Linked DNA regions of Homo sapiens: region 2 is linked to region 1. The links are contacts of gene promoters, found by promoter capture Hi-C in human tissues and cell types (Jung and others, 2019). All regions are on one chromosome and are shown on one strand. The core of a region is centred on a gene start or on the middle of the fragment in contact, and the rest is flanking DNA. Distances in the headings are between cores, read along the strand shown. Region 1 holds the start of OR2AT4 (olfactory receptor family 2 subfamily AT member 4). Region 2 overlaps LOC107984358 (a long non-coding RNA gene).

Region 1 (3,446 bases), core at 771-3,270:
CAAAACTGCTGCACCTCCACTTAAGAGATAACCCTCAGTTAACAGACCCAACCTGCCTAAGCAAATCACCAGGTTTTTCTAATACCCAAAGAGATGCAAACTACCTTATTCTGAACGTTGTTACAGCTCAGAGAAGTCAATTATGGATTGAATGCCACCGAGTTAGGCTGAATTGGGGTTTGAGGGGAGAAATTCAGAGCCGTCAAGCCTGACTGAGCCTCTCTTCCCACCTCCTCCCTCACTTCTATTAAACAGCAGGGAGACAGATGCTGAGTCTGAAGTCCAGAAATAGTGTCTTTTCAAGGTCAACCAACAAATTCATAGCAGAAGTAGGTTTTAAAGCCGGTGTCCTGGCTCCCACCCAGTCTTTGTAGGATGTTTCATGAGAGAGGATGATTCCTTAGCCTGCTATTCAAAGCCTGTCTTCTTGCAGCCTTGTTTCTCCTTATTCTAGTCAAATGGCAACTCCTTGCTCTTGCCTTGTGCTTCTGCCAAATTCAGCTCAAATATTACTTCCTCCAAGAGATCTTCTATGGTCCTGGCTGGCTCAGGAGCCTCTTTCCTGGGCTCTTGAAGTTCCTGTGCTTCTGTTTGTCATTATTATGATTACACCAGGTTGTCTCTGTCTATTTATGTGTCCACCACACCAGGAGCACTTTCAGAGCAGTAATGGGGTCTGATCGTTTCTATTTGATACTGCACCATCCTTCCCAGGAGCTTAGTGCTCTGGAATGCAGCTTTCCAACTTGCCTTGTTTTGCTGATAAATCATCAAATAGGAATGAAGGGGCCATTAGTGATTAAATAGTTTTCACCTAACCTCTTTTTTTTTTTTTTTTTTGAGATTGAGTCTTGCTCTATCACCCAGGCTGGAGTGCAGTGGCACGATCTCGGCTCACTGCAACCTCTGCCTCCCGGGTTCAAGCGATTCTCATGCCTCAACCTCCCGAGTAGCTGGGATTACAGGCGCTTGCCACCATGTCCGGCTAATTTTTGTATTTTTAGTAGAGATGGTGTTTCACCATGTTGGCCAGGCTGGTCTTGAAGTCCTGATCTCAAGTGATCTGCCCGCCTCGGCCTCCCAAAGTGCTGGCATTTCACCTAACCTCTTTATTATATAGATGGGGACAGAAAAGGGAGTCCCAGAAATGGGCTGTGACTTTCCCAAGGTCACACAGTAAGTGGGTGATAGAACTAGAACTAGACTGTCAACAGAGCTAGATTATCAACTCACCTTGAGCTCTCCTGGACCAGCTCTGCCACTCTCTTGCTGTGATGCTGGGTCTCTGAGCCTCAGTTTTCCCATCTATAAAATGAGGACTTTGGAAGCAATGATCTCCAGCTTGATAAATATTTTGAGTATCTACTCTGTGTTTAGATAAATGAGAGATTCGAAGACAGATGTGTCATGGCCTCAGCCTCTTAGGAAGGAGAGCAAGGGCGCTCTCATTTGTTAAGCTTCTGTTGCCTGCTTGATTCTTTACAGTCATTACACATCATTACGACGCCCAAACTCATGCAGTTCTCTCATGATATTCTCACCATCCTGCACTGTTTCCATAGAAAAGGAGCAGGATATACGTGAAGCACAGAATCTAGGTCTATTAACTTTGCAGTTAGAAAGGCCTGAGTTTCCTTCCTGGCTCCACCACTTTGTGCTTTCCTCCAATGGACTGCAATTCCCTCACAAATTATTCCCATTTCTCTTATCGTCATCAGCTTTGCCTCCTTGTGAGGAATTCTCTTCCAAGATCATTAGCCTCTTGCTTGTGACTGCACAGCCCTGCCCCTGCCTGCGAGGGTGTCTGGTCTACACTCACCCAGGCTGACTGCGTGGTTGACTTGGATCCTGGGACCCTGACATTCCCAGGATCTTTACTGTGGTTGTACATGCCCCCAACCTCCCTGAGCCTATCTCCCCATCCCAGTCTCTGCCTGCTCTGCGCACTCCATCCCCAGCCCAGCTCACCTACCAATCCTGGTCCGCCTTGATGTCTTGTGTAGAGTCGTCACAGTTGGCCTTGGTTGGGAAGAGCCAGGTAGAAACTCAACCATGGCCCTTTAAACCCTCGGGCCCCTCTCTGCAACCAGGCCTGCTGGGGCTCTCTCCCCACAAGAAGGCTCACCCGTGGGACCAGATAACTGCCAGTCAGCTGAGAACAACTTCCGAGGGTGGAGTGGGGGACTTTGTTCTGGGCTTTGCTGATAATGAAAACAACATCATTAACAACCCTCATGGGTCCCAGAACTTTATCACCAGTATTATTCCTGTTTTCCCATCTGGTCCTCACAATAGCCAGGGAAGACAGGCAGAGTCAGGATTATTTCCACTATTTTACATTTGAGGAAACTGAGATCTAGAGAAGTGAGGTGACTTGCCCAAGGTCATATGAGTGGCTGGTGGCAGAGCTGGGATTTGTACCCAAGGCTCCAATTCTGGTTCAGTGGTTCAGCAACATGTTATCTAATGACTAAGACCCGAGTTATTCCCAGTAATATGACTTTGAACAAATCCCTTAACCTCACTGGGTCTTCATTTTGTCATCTGTGGAATGGGTATAACGACACTAACTCTCTCACAGGATAACTGGGCAGGTTGAGGTGCTTCACCCAGTTCCTGCCACTTATTAGGCATTCAATAAGTGGGAGCTATTATTTTAATGGACCAAAGCAGTAAAGCCTTGTTCAATGAGTATGTGATACTTCCGCTGCTGTGCAATGAGAACTTGCAAAGGTTTTGTGGAAAGAATGTGAGGGTGGAAGTCTCTGCCCCAACCCCATACAGGACAAAGTCAAGAGTCACAGACTCTTCCTGCCTCAATCTTTCTGATTCTCTCCTTTGGCTCCAGTGTTCTGTTTCTGACTTGACTGACTTGGTCACTCCTACTAATACTCATAAAATTTTAATTTTTTTTTAATTTCACAAGTAATAAACAGAACCTCATTGTAGAACATTTTAATCAATACAGAGCTTTACTGAGTCAAAAGTGAAAGTTCTAGGCCGGGTGTGGTGGCTCACGCCTGTAATCCCAGCACTTTGCCGGGCCGAAGGGGGAGGATCTCTTGAGTCCAGGAGTAAGAGAGCAGCTTGGACAACTGGCAAAACTCTATCTCTACTGAAAAATACAAAAAAATTAGCTGGGCATGGTGGCATGCACCTGTAGTCTCAGTGAGAGGTGACAGCGTGCTGGCAGTCCTCACAGCCCTCGCTCGCTCTCGGTGCCTCCTCTGCCTGGGCTCCCACTTTGGCGGCACTTGAGGAGCCCTTCAGCCCACCGCTGCACTGTGGGAGCCCCTTTCTGGGCTGGCCAAGGCCGGAGCCGGCTCCCTCAGCTTGCAGGGAGGTGTGGAGAGAGAGGCGCGAGTGGGAACCAGGGCTGCGCCTGCGCTTGCAGGCCAGCTGGAGTTCTGGGTGGGCGTGGGCTTGGCGGACCCCACACTCAGAGC
Region 2 (3,351 bases), core at 312-2,811, 41 kb after region 1:
CTTCCTTGCCTTCTGCCATGATTGTGTGACTTCCCCAGCCAAGTGGAACTGTACGTCCAATAAACCTCTTCCTTTTATAAATTGCCCAGTCTCAGGTATGTCTTTATCAGCATCATGAAAAAGGACTAATACAGTAAATTGGTACCGATAGAGTGCGGCATTGCTGAAAAGATACCCAAAACTGTGGAAGCGACTTTGGAACTGGGTAACAGGCACAGGTTGGAACAGTTTGGAGGGCTCAGAAGATTGCCCAGTCTTGAGTATGTCTGTATCAGCAGTGTGAAAACAGACTAATACAGAGGCCTTATAATTCTAAGCCCGACCTCCTCCAGGGAGCCTTCTGTGACTTCATCTTCCTCCAGGCTCCAGTGCTCTTTCTCTCCTCTGGATTGACCAGGCCTGGCTGCCAATGCTGCCATTTTAAAGATTAAGATAACTGAGGTTCGTTTTTCATTCCACATTGAATAAGGCTGGCTTTGCACTGGGTGCATGGTCACAGGGAATTGACACAGTCTAGTGGGGTAGCCAGCCAAAACCCTGTCCATCATATCCACTGTGATCTGTGCTACCATAGAGCTGAAGGGCCCAGAGGAGGAAACAAAGCGACTTGCATCATGGAAGACATCTCTTAAATGGGTCATAAATTTCAAGCAGATGAATAGAGTGCAGGCCACAAAGGAGGGGGTAAACAAAGTCATGAAGTGTAGAAAAAGCAGGAGGTGTGTTAGAGGGGAGATAGAAGTTGGTTTGGGCTGCAATATAGAAGGAGAGACTGCGAGTCTCCAAAGATGAGGCTAAAGAGGTTGGCAGGGGCCAGAGGGAGGAGAGTCTTGAAGCCAAGAACAACCCTCAGCATGAGGACATTGGAAAGCCAGAACCAGGGCTCAGACAGAGGGCTAAGATAGTCAGCTACATGTTTGAGAAAGCTCATACCCACTGTGGCACGGGGAATGTCTTCGAGTAGGAGAGAGAGACCAGAGGCAGGGCAACCAGCCAGGAAGCTTGGTGGTGAGGAGAGGAATAGAGAGGAGTATTAATGACAATGATAGCAGATGATGGCTGCCCTTTATTGAGAGCTTACTTGTACTAATGGCTGTGCCCTGGTAGTCACATACTTCATTTCATTTAATCCAAGGAGCAATTTCCATTACCCTTGTTTTATGGATGAGGGAGCTCAGAGGGTTAAGTAACTAAGCCTGCTTTGGTCATTCTGCTGGATAAATAGTGAGTTAGTGTAGAGTCCAATCCATCTCCAAAGCCATGCCTCTTAACTATCAAAGCTTAGAGAATCTGGCTGGGCGTGGTGCCTCACGTCTGTAATCCCACTTTGGGAGGCTGAGGCGGGTGGATCACTTGAGGTCAGGAGTTCGAGATCAGCCTGGCCAACATGGTGAAACCCCAACTCTACTAAAAACATAAAAATTAGCCAGGGGTGGTGGCACATGCCTATAATCCCAGCTACTTGGGAGGCTGAGGCAGGAGAATCTCTTGAACCTGGGAGGCAGAGGTTGCAGTAAGCCAAGATCAAGCCACTGCATTCCAGCCCAGGCAACAGAGTAAGGAAAAAAAAAATTTGGAGAATCTTCAAGAGGTAGAATAGTCAGAATTTGACAACTGATTATGGAAAGGTCCAAGATGATGCCCAGTATTCTGGTTTGGGTGACGAGACAGATGGTGGTGATGTTGACTGATGTCTGGAGCTCAGGAGAGAGAGTGGATGCAGGCAAAGACTTGGGAGGCATATACTTATGATAGTGAACAAGATCACCTAGGGAGAGAGTGTAGTGTGAGAAGGACAGAACCATGGGGGGAAACAACATGAGACTGAGGCAGAACAAGAAATTTCTGTAAAAGATACTGAGAAACAACAGCCAGAGAGCGTGAAGCAAAACCAGGAGAGTGTTATATCACAGAAGCTCCCTAGGGCAGCTGTGGTCAGCAGCATCAAATGTTGCTGATGTGCCCAAGAGGACAAGAATCGGATGAAAAGTGTCTGTGGGGTCCAGTGATGAGGGGATCACTGGTGCCCCAGGTGTGAACAGGCCAGTGGAACAGTGAGCGTGGAAGGTTGGGAGTGAGTAAATGGAGAGAGAATAGATAACATCTTCAAGATGTTTAGCTGAAAAGAGATGTGGATGGTTGGAGGCTGATGAGATGTGTCCTAGGCAGTTCAGGGTTTTATAACAAAATACCTTAAACTGGGTCATTTGTAAACAACAGAAATTTATTGCTCACAGTTCTGGAGGCTGGGAAGTCCAAGATCAAGGTGCCAGTGGATCCAGTGTCTGGTGAGGGCTGCTCTCTGCTTCATAGATGGCACTTTCTAGCTGTGTCCTCACATGGTGGAAGGGACCAACAAGCTCTCTCAGGCCTCTTTTATAAGGGATGTAATCTCATTCAAGAGGGCTTTACCCTTACAAACTAATCACTTCCCAAAGGCCCCACCATTAAACACCATCACCCTAGAGGTTAGGTTTGCTTTATTAAAAAAAAGAAAATTTTTTTTGTAGAGACAGTATCTTGCTATGTGGCCCAGGCTTGTCTTGAACCCCTGGCCTCAAACAATCCTCCTGCCTTAGCCTCCCAAGTAGCTGGGAGCTGAGACCATGCCTGACCTTTTAAATTTTAATTTATTTATTCACTCATGCATTCATTTTTTTTTTTTTTTTAGATACAGGGTCTCACTCTGTTGCACTGGCTGGAGCGCAGTAGCACCATCATAGCTCACTGCCTCAAACTCCTGGGGTTAAGTGATCTTCCCGCCTCAGCCTCCCATATAGCTGGGATTACAGGCACATGCCACTATGCCCGGCTAGTGTTTTCCATTTCTGTAGAGACAGAGTCTCACTATGCTGCACAGGCTGGTCTTGAACTCTGGGCCTCAAGCAGTTCTCGCACCATGGCCTCCTAAAACACTGGGGTTACAGGTGTGAGCCACCACACCTGGCCAAGATTTAACATATGGATTTTGAAGGTCACAAACATTCAGACCATAGCAAGAAATCAGGGGGAATTTTGTTGTACTTTAAAAATTGGAGATATTTTAGCATATTTCCCACAATTCGTGGGTAGGAAGCAGCCAGTAGAGAGTGAGAGGATGAAGAGGATGGTCAATAGAGGAGGAGGAGGAGAGCTTCTGAAGCCAGTGTCTGGGCTCCCAGTGGGAGTGGGAGACAAGAGAGTAGAAAGAGTGCAGTAAAGGTCAGTGTGCAGATCTGGCGCTGCAGGGGGACGGCCTATCCTCACTTAAGACTGGAGTGGTAGGAGAATTTTGTGAAGATATTGAGACTGTAGAAGTGTTTGTTCCCCATTGAACGGGACTGGGAGGCAGTATAGTGGTTAAATGCTCCG

Evidence for each region. The method cuts DNA at HindIII sites, captures the fragments that hold promoters and counts their contacts. A contact is called where the count stands out against the background at its distance.
Region 2: a contact is called between a fragment that was not itself captured here and the fragment with the promoter of OR2AT4 in region 1, in 1 of the 25 tissues and cell types used here (pancreas).

The regions. Positions count from the first base shown.
Region 1 is chr11:75,094,856-75,098,301 of GRCh38, forward strand. It overlaps OR2AT4 (olfactory receptor family 2 subfamily AT member 4), which reads right to left and starts at 2,021. Exons shown (of 2, transcript NM_001405852.1): 1 at 1,973-2,021. RefSeq lists a cis regulatory region at 1,880-2,395. The HindIII fragment of the contact is 12,596 bases long and covers 1-2,813 here.
Region 2 is chr11:75,136,354-75,139,704 of GRCh38, forward strand. All of the region lies in intron 1 of LOC107984358 (a long non-coding RNA gene), which reads right to left. Among named protein-coding and RNA genes, the nearest start is that of SLCO2B1, 13 kb to the right of the region's middle. The HindIII fragment of the contact is 3,555 bases long and covers 1-3,339 here.